2 separate regions of the Homo sapiens genome follow, and region 2 is linked to region 1. The links are contacts of gene promoters, found by promoter capture Hi-C in blood cells and fetal thymus (Javierre and others, 2016). All regions are on one chromosome and are shown on one strand. Each heading gives the region's core, a stretch centred on a gene start or on the middle of the fragment in contact. The rest is flanking DNA. Distances are from core to core; before and after follow the strand shown.

Region 1 (5,569 bases), core at 1,212-3,711:
GTAATACGAAAATGTGAAAAAAAGTGTCCAATGGTGAAACATATTTCTTTTTCTTTTTCTTTTTCTTTTTTTTTTTTTTTTTGAGACAGAGTCTTGCTCTGTCGCCCAGGCTGGAGTGCAGTGGCTCAATCTCAGCTCACTGCAAGCTCCGCCTCCCGGGTTCACGCCATTCTCCTGCCTCAGCCTCCCGAGTAGCTAGGACTATAGGCGCCTACCACCACGCCTGGCTAATTTCTTTTTTTTTCTATTTTTAGTAGTGATGGGGTTTCACCATGATAGCCAGGATGGTCTCGATCTTCTGACCTCGTGATCCGCCCACCTCGGCCTACCAAAGTGCTGGAATTAAAGGTGTGAGCCACCGTGCCCTGCCCCAATATTTATTTTTCAAGAGAAATTGGAAATCTTGGTTTTAATGTGAAATATCATCATTTGAAGACATTGTCCTGAAGTGGCAGGTCATAAGGGGGAAAAAAAGACACTGAAAGATAAATTTTTTTAAATTGAAATACTATGTGGGTCAATATTTCTGGAGGGACCCAGGTCTGCTAGTTTGCAGACTAAGCCAGTTCTAAATACAGTCATGAGCTGCATAACAAGTTTCAGTTAACAACCAACCACATATAAGACAGTGGTTACATAAGATTGTAATACTGTAACTTTTCTATGTTTGTTTGTTTGTTTATTTGAGACAGGGTCTTGCTCTGTTGCTCAGGCTGGAGTGCAGTGGTGCGATCTCAGCTCACTGCAACCTCCACCTCCCAGGTTCAAGAGATTCTCATGCCTCAGCCTCCTGAGTAGCTGGGATTACAGCCACTCGCCACCATGCCCCGCTAATCTTTGTATTTTTAGTAGAGGCGGAGTTTCACCATGTTGGCCAGGTGGATCTTGAACTCCTGACCTCAGGTGATCTGCCCGCCTCGGCCTCACAAAGTGCTGGGATTACAGGCCTCTGGGATTACAGGTGTGAGCCACCACACCCTGGCCGCTTTTCTATGTTTAAATACACAAATACCTTGTTTCAACTGCCTACAGTATTCAGTATAGTAAAATGCTGTAAAACTTTGTAGCCTAGGAGCAATAGCCTACACCATCTGGTTTTTGTAAGCATATTCTATGATGTTTGCAAGGCAAAACTGCCAATAATGTGTTTGTTAGAATGTATCCCTGTCATCATTAAGTGACTTATAACTGTACTGGTTCTGATTCTCTATTTGAAGATTTTCAACAATCACCATGGTTCATACTTTCATAAATATTTAGGTCTGAGCCTTTCTTCACCTGAATATAAACCTAGGTTCCAGAACTTTTAACTTTCCTTGGCAGTGATTTTCAGCTAACTGCTTGGGGAACAAAGTAAGGAAAGCAGGGGGGAAACTACTTTTTAAAGAGTGGTATTTCATCTTGTTGAGGGCAGGCATGACTTCCTCATCATTTCCATCTCCTGGGCTCAATTTCTGCCCACTTATATAGCACTGGAATCACAAAAAGAAGACAAGTAATTATGCTTCTTCTTCATAAACATCTCTATCCAGTAGGACATCACATACTTTGCTCAATAGCTCTGGCTGGGTCTGCAATCCTTTTCAAACGACTAGTTAGAACTACCAAGTATGTAAGCAAGAGAGTGAACACATCAAGTAAGAGTTGAGGAGCATCTCTAGGTAAAACCATTACTTCATAAAGAGCTCTCATTGGATAGACAGCTGGTAGATTTCAAACCTAAGGCAACAGCATTTCTCAGTGTGGTGGGATGCCCTCCAATTTTATAATCACTTGAGGTGTGTTGTCGAAATGCACATTCCTGAAACCCCCAATCATATTAAAAATTCACAATCTGCATTCCAACAAGCCCATACCTATGCATACTGAAATTTGAGAATCACTGCTCTAATATATCCATCAGAGTGTGCTTTACAGTGTCACCTAATAACTGCCCTCGTAGTCATTCAGAAGGCAACCTGGGTACATCACAGGTTACGAAAACTGCTGCAATCCGTGTTATACAGAACCCTCTGGTAACCAGCCCCTCCCTGCATCTCGACGGGGGGGTCACTAAAATTACTTCTATGTAAAGAGATATCTTTATCTACACTCTCCTTCCCATCACCCTTCCCACTCCAATACGCTCTTTTTAGAGAATTTCCTGCTCTTCGCCCTCCCTTTTCTCCTGTCTGAGTCCCTCCACCTTAACCCAACCTCCGATCCACCCCAGGCCGCCCTCACCACAGACCACCCCCGGCCAGGGCTTCTCTTTCGCCTCGGGCCCCTGACTCCACAGAGCTAGCGTCAGCTACCGGCTCCCTTCCGCTGTTCAAGGACCCCCAGACCCTCAACACTCCACAGTCACCCTTTTCCACTCCCAATCTTCTCTCAGCTTTGGCTACGCGGCCCGAAAGGTACTCACCATTCCGGCGGTTGCTACTGTCACTGCTCTGGTTGCTAGGGCCCGCGGGGTCAGTGCGCGTGCGCACTTCTCGGCGCTCTCGGCGGAAGCCCTATCCCCGGCAGCGGTCCTTTCTCTCCGCCCTCAGGGTGGTGCGAGCGGGGCATTGTGGGACTGCGTGGCGGCCGCCGGGGTCCTCCCGTCCGGCTGTTGCTGGCTGCCCTTTTGCTTCCTTAGGTCTTAACCCCGCACAGGAGTAGTCAGGACCGAAAGCAATTTCAGCTGATCTGTAGTGACTTGTCCGCCTAAAGTTAAAAACCTTAAAACGTCCCCCTAACAACTACCCTTTTCATAAAATAATGTTCTTAATTCCTTTGCCCTAACGATGGCGTTTCCCACCCTTTTCCGGACGAGGGGAGAATAAGCGGCTTGCTGTAATTTCCCTCTCCATCCCATCCCACTGAGAATACCAGAGCCAAACTCCACCCATTTTATGTTTCTTTACCCCGGATCCTCCAGGGAGCCAGAGGCAGCTGAAAGCTCGGTTCCACATTTTAAATATCACAAATTGTTGGTTTTAATCACCAGGGTGTCTTTTTTTCCCCACCTACCAAATGAGCTAAAAATTATTAACAATAATAATAATTCATAGAGTTGCTAGGGGTATGGTGAAGTAGGGACACACAAATACGCTGCTGTTTATAATTGATACAGCCTTTCTGGAAGGCTGTTGGCTGTTCAAAAACTTTTGCACCCTTTGTGATCCAGCAGTTCCACTTCCAGGACTTTATCCTGAGCACAGAGATGTATGTTCAAAGCTTTAATAGAAAAAAAAAAATCAACTCAATTATCAACAAAAGAGAATTGGTGGCCGGGACTGGTGGCTCACGCCTGTAATCCTAGCACTTTAGGAGGCTGAGGAGGGCGGACCACTTGACCACTTGAGCCCAGCCTGGCCAACATGGTGAAACCCCGTCTCTACTAAAAATACAAAAATTAGCCGGGTGTGGTGGCACGCGCCTGTAGTCCCAGCAATTCCGGAGCCTGAGGCACGAGAATTGCTTGAACCCGGGAGGCGGAGGTTGCAGTGAGCCGAGATCGCGCCATTGCACTCCAGTCTGGGCAACAAGAGTGACACTCCGTCTCAAAACAAACAAACAAACAAACAAAAAGAGAGAGAAAATTGGTTAGTAGTATTGAACATCCAATGCAATAATGTACTTACACTAAAAAAGTACAATTGACTTGCTGAAAGGCATCTATTCACATCCAAAGATAGTCATATTTCAAGTAAAAATAGAAGTTACCAAACAAAATAGTTGGTACGATTTTCCTTTAAAATTATACATAGTGGCCTGGTGCAGTTTGTTCATGCCTGTAATCCCAGAAATTTGGGAGGCCAAAGTAAGAGGATCCCTTGAACCCAGGAGTTCAAGACCAGCCTGGGCAACGTAACAAGACCCTGGCTCTGTAAAAAATAAAAATTAGCGAGGCATGGTGGTACAACACCCATAGTCCCAGCTACTGGGGAGACTGAAGCAGGAGGATCATTTGAGGAGTTTGAGGCTTAGGTGAGCTCTAATTGTGCCATTGCACTCCACCCTGGGCAACAGAGCCAGACCCTGTCTCTAAAACAAAAAACAAAGCAAAAAAATGGAAAAGTTATACATAGTACACACACGTATATAAACATATATCTAAAAGGATATTATGAGGGTTTAATGTTTGCTGTGGACTGAGTGGTGGTACACCAAAATTCATATGTAGTGATCTGGTAAGTTTAAGTTCTTTGATACTTTCTGAGATGTCTGGGGGATACCTAAATTTTAAGCTTTAAAACCGGAAGGGTCAATTTCTATGTTTATTTTTTAAAAAACTGTCTATGGGACTATTGGATAGGTTTCAAAATCTTGGTACACTTCACATAAAGAACATTTTGAGTTCCAGATTCTCAAAGGTTAAAAACATTCACACAGAAAATAAAAGAATTATATAACTTGGACCCTTCTTTTGTTCTTTCATATCCTACAAAATGACAAAATAGATTCCAAAACCTGTTCACCAGAGAATGTGTGGGTCTGCTTGCTCTTATTTCAGGCCTGGATAAAATAAGTTGAAAGAAAGTTTAAAAATAGTATTGAAGGCCGAGCGTGGTGGCTCACGCCTGTAATCCCAGCACTTTGGGAAGCCGAGGCAGGCAGATCACCTGAGGCCGGGAGTTCCAGACCAGCTTGACCAACATGGAGAAACCCCGTCTCTACTAAAAATACAAAATTAGTTGGGCGTGGTGGCGCATACCTGTAATCCCAGTTACTCTGGAGGCTGAGGCAGGAGAATCGCTTGAACCCTGGAGGCGGAGGTTACAGTGAGCCAAGATCGCACCATTGCACTCCAGCCTGGGCAACAAGAGTGAAACTCTGTCTCAAAAATAAATAAATAAATAAATAGTATTGAAACAGTGTTCCCTAATTCAGAATATCTAGCAGACCCTTTGAAAAGTATAAGTAAAATAGTGTTAAATGATACAAAACAGAACCAAATAGAATATGTTAAGAAATCTTTAACTTTTAGGGCCTGACACAGTGGCTCACACCTGTAATCCCAGCACTTTGGGAGGCCGAGGCGGGCAGATCACTTGAGGTCAGGCGTTCGAGACTACCCTGTCCAACATGGCAAAACCCCGTCTCCACTAAAAACACAAAAATTAGCTGGGCATGGTGGCTCATGCCTGTATTCCCAGCTACTCGAGTGGCTGAGGCAGGAGAATTGCCTGAACCCAGGAGGCAGAGGTTGCAGTGAGCCAAGATTGCGCCACTGTACTCTAGCATGGGCGACAGAACGAGAACCTGTCTCAAAACAAAACAAAGAAATCTTTAATTTTTAAGCAAAAATGTGGACCAAACAAAAGAGAAGAAAAAATTGTCACATTTAAGAAATGAGTTAGAGATTAAGCAAAATAGTTAAAAGTTACATACCTTAAAATTGTAAAGAACTTAAACCCTAGGATAGGCACTAATTCTTAAGGTTGTTTATATAATAGAGAAGTTTATCAATTCAAATTAGAATTAGCTGACTGGGTGCAGTGGCTCATACCTATAATCCCAGCACTTTGGGAGGCCAAGGCAGGAGGATGGCTTGAGGCTGGGAGTTCAAGACCAGGCAGGGTAACATAGCGAGACCCCATCT
Region 2 (5,688 bases), core at 487-2,986, 220 kb before region 1:
TAATGTCAGAGGGCTCTGATATACAGGGGTGGTTCTTAAGTTGTGCAGCATCTGGCCCTGAGGTGATTTAAGGCAGGGGAGTGTGAGTTAGATAGAGGAGGAGTTTAGGGATATGGGCTTTGGATTGGTTGGTTTGTATATGAATGGCAAGACTCAAATGCAAGTTGTTATCTCTAAAAATAAGCAAATCCTGCCAGGGACAGTTACTCTAGGATTCACAAGCCCCCTAAGATGTCAAAACATCCTAAAATACACTAAATTAAAAACATGATTCATACAAAGATTAAGCAGAAGGGGGCACTGATGTGTTACAAAAGACAGACATCCACTGAGGCAACAGTGTGAGGGTAATTGGCAGGCTTCTCTGAGCCTGGACAGGTAAAGGAGTCAGGTTATGTAGCTTCTTTTTTTTTTTGAGACAGAGTCTTGCTCTGTTGCCCAGGCTGGAGTGCAGTGGCGTGATCTCGGCTCACTGCAACCTCGGCCTCCCGGGCTCAAGTGATTTTCCTGCCTCAGCCTCCCAAGTAGCTGGGACTACAGGCATGTGCCACCACGCCTGGCTAATTTTTTTGTATTTTTAGTAGAGACGGGGTTTCACTATGTTGGCCAGGCTGGTGTCAAACTCCTGACCTCAGGTTATCCACCCACCTCGGCCTCCCAAAGTGCTAGGATTACAAGCGTGAGCCACCGTGCCTAGCCCAGGTTATGTAGCTTCTTAGACCATGTCAAGGCTGATTGGTCTCAATTCCAAAACTAATGGGAAGCCATTAAACCACTTTAAGCAAGGTGACACAATTAGTTGCTGTTATAAGAAGAATCACTCTGGCATTCTGGCTGCAGTGTGAAAAATGGCTTAAAGGGGCAAAGTGTGTATGCAAGGGTACCTACCCCATTAGGAAAGAAACAACGGTGATTCAGACTAGGTAGACTTCCCTGGAATTACTAAGACATGGACTGAATTGAGAGGTATTTAGGAGGTGGGATCCACAGGACCTGGTAGAGGCAAAATTCTCAAGACTGTGCTTTCTAGCATGAAATGAGTAAGTAGACAAAATATTTACTTCCCTGGAGGAAAAAGAGGTTTTTTGGTTTTTGTTTTTGCTTTGAAGTTGGGAGTGTTCGAAGTGAAGATCATTAATTCAATTTATATTATAATCCTAGTTGTTCCATCATTTTTCCTCCCCTAAAATCTTTTTTTTTTAAAGACAGAAAGAAATTAATGAACACCCAAATAAGTAGAAAGACATCATGCATTCATGGATCAGTGTATTAGGATATTGTTTTCATCAGAATTCTCCAGAGAAACAGAACCAACAGGATACATACATATCTATGAAGAGATTTATTATAAGGTATTGGCTCATGCAGTTAGAGAGGCTAAGAAGTCCCATTATCTGCCATCTGCAAGCTGAAGACTCAGAAAAGCCAGCAGTGTGGTTCCAGTGAATGAGAGCAGGTAAGCTGACAGTAGAGATTCTAGTCCAGATCTGAAGGCCTGAGAACCAGGAACTCTGAGGACAGGAGAAGAATGATGCTCCAGCTTAAGCAGTCAGAGTTAGTTCAACCTTCTTCTTCTTCTTTTTTTTGTTTTTTTGTTTTTTTTTTTTTTTTTTTTGAGACAGAGTCTTGCTCTGTCACACAGGCTGGAGTGCAATGCCGCGATCTTGGCTTACTGCAATCTCCGCCTCCCGGGTTCAAACAATTCTCTTGCCTCAGCTTCCTGAGTAGCTGGGATTACAGGTGCCTGCCACCACACCCGGCTAATTTTTGTATTCTTAGTAGAGACGGGGTTTCACCACGTTGGCCAGGCTGGTCCTGAACGTCTGACCTCAGGTGATCTGCCCGCCTCAGCCTCCCAAAGTGCTGGGATTACAGGTGTGAGACACCGCACCCAGCAACCTTCTTCTACATTTTGTTCTCCTTAGGCCCTCAATGGACTGGATGATGCCCACCCACATTAGAGAAGGACATCTGCTTTTTTCAGTCCACCAATCCAAAAGCTAATCTCTTCTAGAAACACCCTTGCAGACACACCCAGAAATAACGTTCAACCAGCTATTTAGACATCCCATGGCCTAGTTAAGTGGACACATAAAATGAACCATCACAGAAGACAATACTCCCCAAATTGATCTACAGACTCAAAGCAATCCCTATCAAAATCCCTATCAAAATCTTCTGTGCAGAAACTGACAAGCTGGTTCTAAAGTTCATATGAAAATTCATGGGACCCAGAAGAGCCAAAACAATCTTAAAAAAGAAAAACAGGCCAGGTGGGGTGGCTCACACCTGTAATCCCAGCACTTTGGGAGGCTGAGGCGGGAGGATCACAAGGTTAGGAGATCAAGACCATCCTGGCCAACATGGTGAAACCCTGTCTCTACTAAAATACAAAAAATTGTTCAGGCATAGTAGCTCATGCCTGTAATCCCAGCACTTTCGGAGGCCGAGGTGGGTGGATCACCTGAAGGTCAGGAGTTCAAGACCCACCTGGCCAATATGGTGAAACCCCGTCTCTGCTAAAAATACAAAATATTAGCCAGGTGTGGTGGTGGGTGCCTGTAGTCCCAGCTACTCAGGAGGCTGAGGCAGGGGAACCACTTGAACCCGGGAAGTGGAGGTTGCAGTGAGCCAAGATAGCGCCACTGCACTCCAGACTGGCGACAGAGCAAGACTCCATCTCAAAAAAAAAAAAAGAAAAACAGATTGGAAGACTCACACTTGCTCATTTCAAAACTTATTACAAAGCTACAGTAATTAAGAGAGCGAGGTACTAGCATGACAGATATACAGATTGCTAGAATAGAGTTGAAAGTCCAGAAATAAACCCTCATATTTATGGTCAGTTGGTTTTCAACAAGAGTACTAAGACAAACCAATGAGGAAAGAATTATCTTTTCAACAAACAGTGCTGGTTCATGTCCCTTCGTGGTCAAATATTTCTGGTCTCTCTTAAAAAAAAAAAAAGTGCTGACACGACTGTATATTCACTTGCAAAAGAGTGAAGTTAGGTCAGGTGTGGTGGCTTGCACCTATCGTCCCAGTTACTTGGGAGTCTGAGACAGGAGAATCACTTGAGCCCAGGGAGTTTGAGATTGTAAAAAAGAATGAGTTGGGCCCTGTGATGGATAATTTTAGGCGTCAACTTGACTGGATAGAGGAATGCCTAGATGGCTTGTGAAGCATTGTTTCTGGATATGTCCTTGAGGGTGTTTTCAGAGGTAACTAGCAGGTGAGTCTGTGGACTATGTGGTGAAGATCTGCCCTCAATGTGGGTGGGCACCATCCATTCAACAAGGAGCCCAGATGGAACAAAAAAGCAGGTGAAGGACAAATTCTCTCTCTCTCCTGCAAAGCAGGACACCCTTCTTCTCCTGCCCTCTGACATAAGAACTCCAGGTTCTTCAGCCTTTGTACTCTGAGACTGCACCCATGGCTTCCTGGGCTCTCAGGCCTTGGGACTGACAAGTATACCAATGGCTTCCTTGGTTGTCGGGCCTTCCAGCTTGGATTGAGCCATGCTACCAGCTTCTCTGGTTCTCCAGTTTGTAGACAGCCTATCATGGGAACTCTCAGCTTCCATAATCTTGTGAGCCAATTCCTCTTATAAGTCCCCTCTCATATATATGTGTGTGCATGTCTGTGGGTGCATGCCTATGTGTGTGTTTGTGTTTCTGTCTCTCTAAAGAATCTTGATTAATACAGACCCCTTCCTCATACGCATACATAGAGTTTAACCCAAAATGTGTTACTGACTTAAATGTTAGAGCAAAACTATAAAACTCTTAGCAGAAAATATACGACTAAATCTTCATGACCTTAAGTGAGGCAAAGCCTTCTTAGATATGAGTCTGAAAGTATTGAAAGTATACGTGACAAACAAAAAAAGAGATAAATCGGACTTTATCAAAATTAAAAACTTTTGTGCTTCAATGGATACTATCAAGAGAATAAAAAGACAACCTACAGCATAGAAGAAAATATTTATAGATCATACATCCAGCAAGAAGCTTATATCAAGAATATATAAACAACTCTTACAACTCAGTAATAAAAACACAGATAATCCAACTTTTAAAATGCACAAGAAATCTGAATAGACATGTCTCCAAAAAAGACATGCAAATGACCAATAAGCACATTAAAAACATGCTCAACATTATTAGCCATAAGGAAATACAAAAGAAAACCACAAGGAGATATCACTTTACACCAACTAGAATGGCTATAACCAAAAAGACAGATAATAACAAGTGTTAGTGAGGATGTGGAAAACTGGAACCTTCACACACTGATGGTGGGATTGGAAAATGGTAAAGCCACTTTGGAAAATAGTTCGGTAGTTCCTCAAAAGGTTAAACATATACTTACTGTATGACCTAGTAATTTTACTCTTATGTATATACCCAAGAGAAACAAAAACACAGTCCACACAAAAACATATACACAAATGTTCATAGCAGAAGTATTGCTAATAGCCAAGTTGTGTAAACAACCCACATGTCCATCATCTGATGAACAGATAAGATACTGTATCCATACAATGTAACATTATTCAGCAATAAAAAGAAGTATAAACTACAACATGATGAGCCTTGTAAACACATACTAAATGAAAGAAGCCAGACACAAAAGGTCATATATTATGCCAGGCACAGTAGCTCCCACCTACAACCCCAGCTACTCAGGAGGCTGAGGCAGGAGGATCCCTGGAATTCAAGACCAGCTTGGGCTGTCTCATAGCAAGAGGTGACCTTGGGTGGGGAAAAGCCTTCTTAGATATGAGTCGGCCAGGTGTGATGGCTCACACCTGTAATCCTAGCACTTTGAGAGGCTGATGCGGGTGGATCACCTGAGGTCAGGAGCTTGAGACCAGCCTGGCCAACATGGTGAAACCCCATCTCTACTAAAAATACAAAAATTAGCTGGGTGTGGTGGTGCACGCCTGTTAATCCCAGCTACTCGGGAGGTTGAGGCATGAGAATCTCTTGAATCCAGGAGGTGGAGGTTGCAATGAGCTGAGATTGAGCCCCTGCACTCCAGCCTGGGGGATAGAGTGAAACTGTCTGCCAAAAAAAAAAAAAGAGAGCCTGAAAGTATGAGAGTATAAATGACAAAAGATAAAACAGAACTCATCTCTAAATAAATAAATAAATAACAGTTTATTCTTTGCAATGATTCATAAATAAACAATTTTAAAATGTTTTTTTAAAAAATTTTAATTAGCCGGGCATGGTGGCACACACCTATGGTCTCAGCTACTCAAGAGCTCTCAGCTGAGGTGAGAGGATTGCTTGAGCCCAGAAGGTCAAGGCAGCCGTGAGCTATGATTGCCCCACTGCATTCCAGCCTGGGCAACAGTGCAAGACTCTGTCTCTTAAAAACAACAAAAAAGAATAACATATTGTATGTTTTTATTTATATGAAATGGCCAGAATAGGCAAATCTATAGGAACAAAAAGTAGATTACTGGTTGTATACAGCAGAGGGTGGGGTGAGGAGGGGAAATGGGGAATGATTGCTAATTATACCATAGGTTCAGGGTTTCTTCTGGGGATGAAAATGTTGTAAAACTGATTGTAATGACAGTTGCAGAATTCCGTGAATATACTAAAAATAATTTAGTTGTACTCTTTAAGTGAGTAAATTGTATAGTGTGTGAATATAATAAAACTGTTAAATTTTTTA

The links. Contacts are between HindIII fragments. The CHiCAGO score rates a contact against its expected background, and 5 or more counts as called.
Region 2: a fragment that was not itself captured here is called in contact with the fragment with the promoter of DNAL1 in region 1 in 6 of 17 cell types (M2 macrophages, M1 macrophages, erythroblasts and 3 more); the score reaches 10.2 in M2 macrophages.

The regions. Positions count from the first base shown.
Region 1 is chr14:73,641,878-73,647,446 of GRCh38, reverse strand. DNAL1 (dynein axonemal light chain 1) reads right to left here and starts at 2,461. Exons shown (of 8, transcript NM_031427.4): 1 at 2,405-2,461. The coding sequence starts at 2,407. The HindIII fragment of the contact is 7,204 bases long and covers 1-3,203 here.
Region 2 is chr14:73,863,016-73,868,703 of GRCh38, reverse strand. All of the region lies in intron 3 of PTGR2 (prostaglandin reductase 2), which reads right to left. Among named protein-coding and RNA genes, the nearest start is that of PTGR2, 14 kb to the right of the region's middle. The HindIII fragment of the contact is 4,552 bases long and covers 1-4,012 here.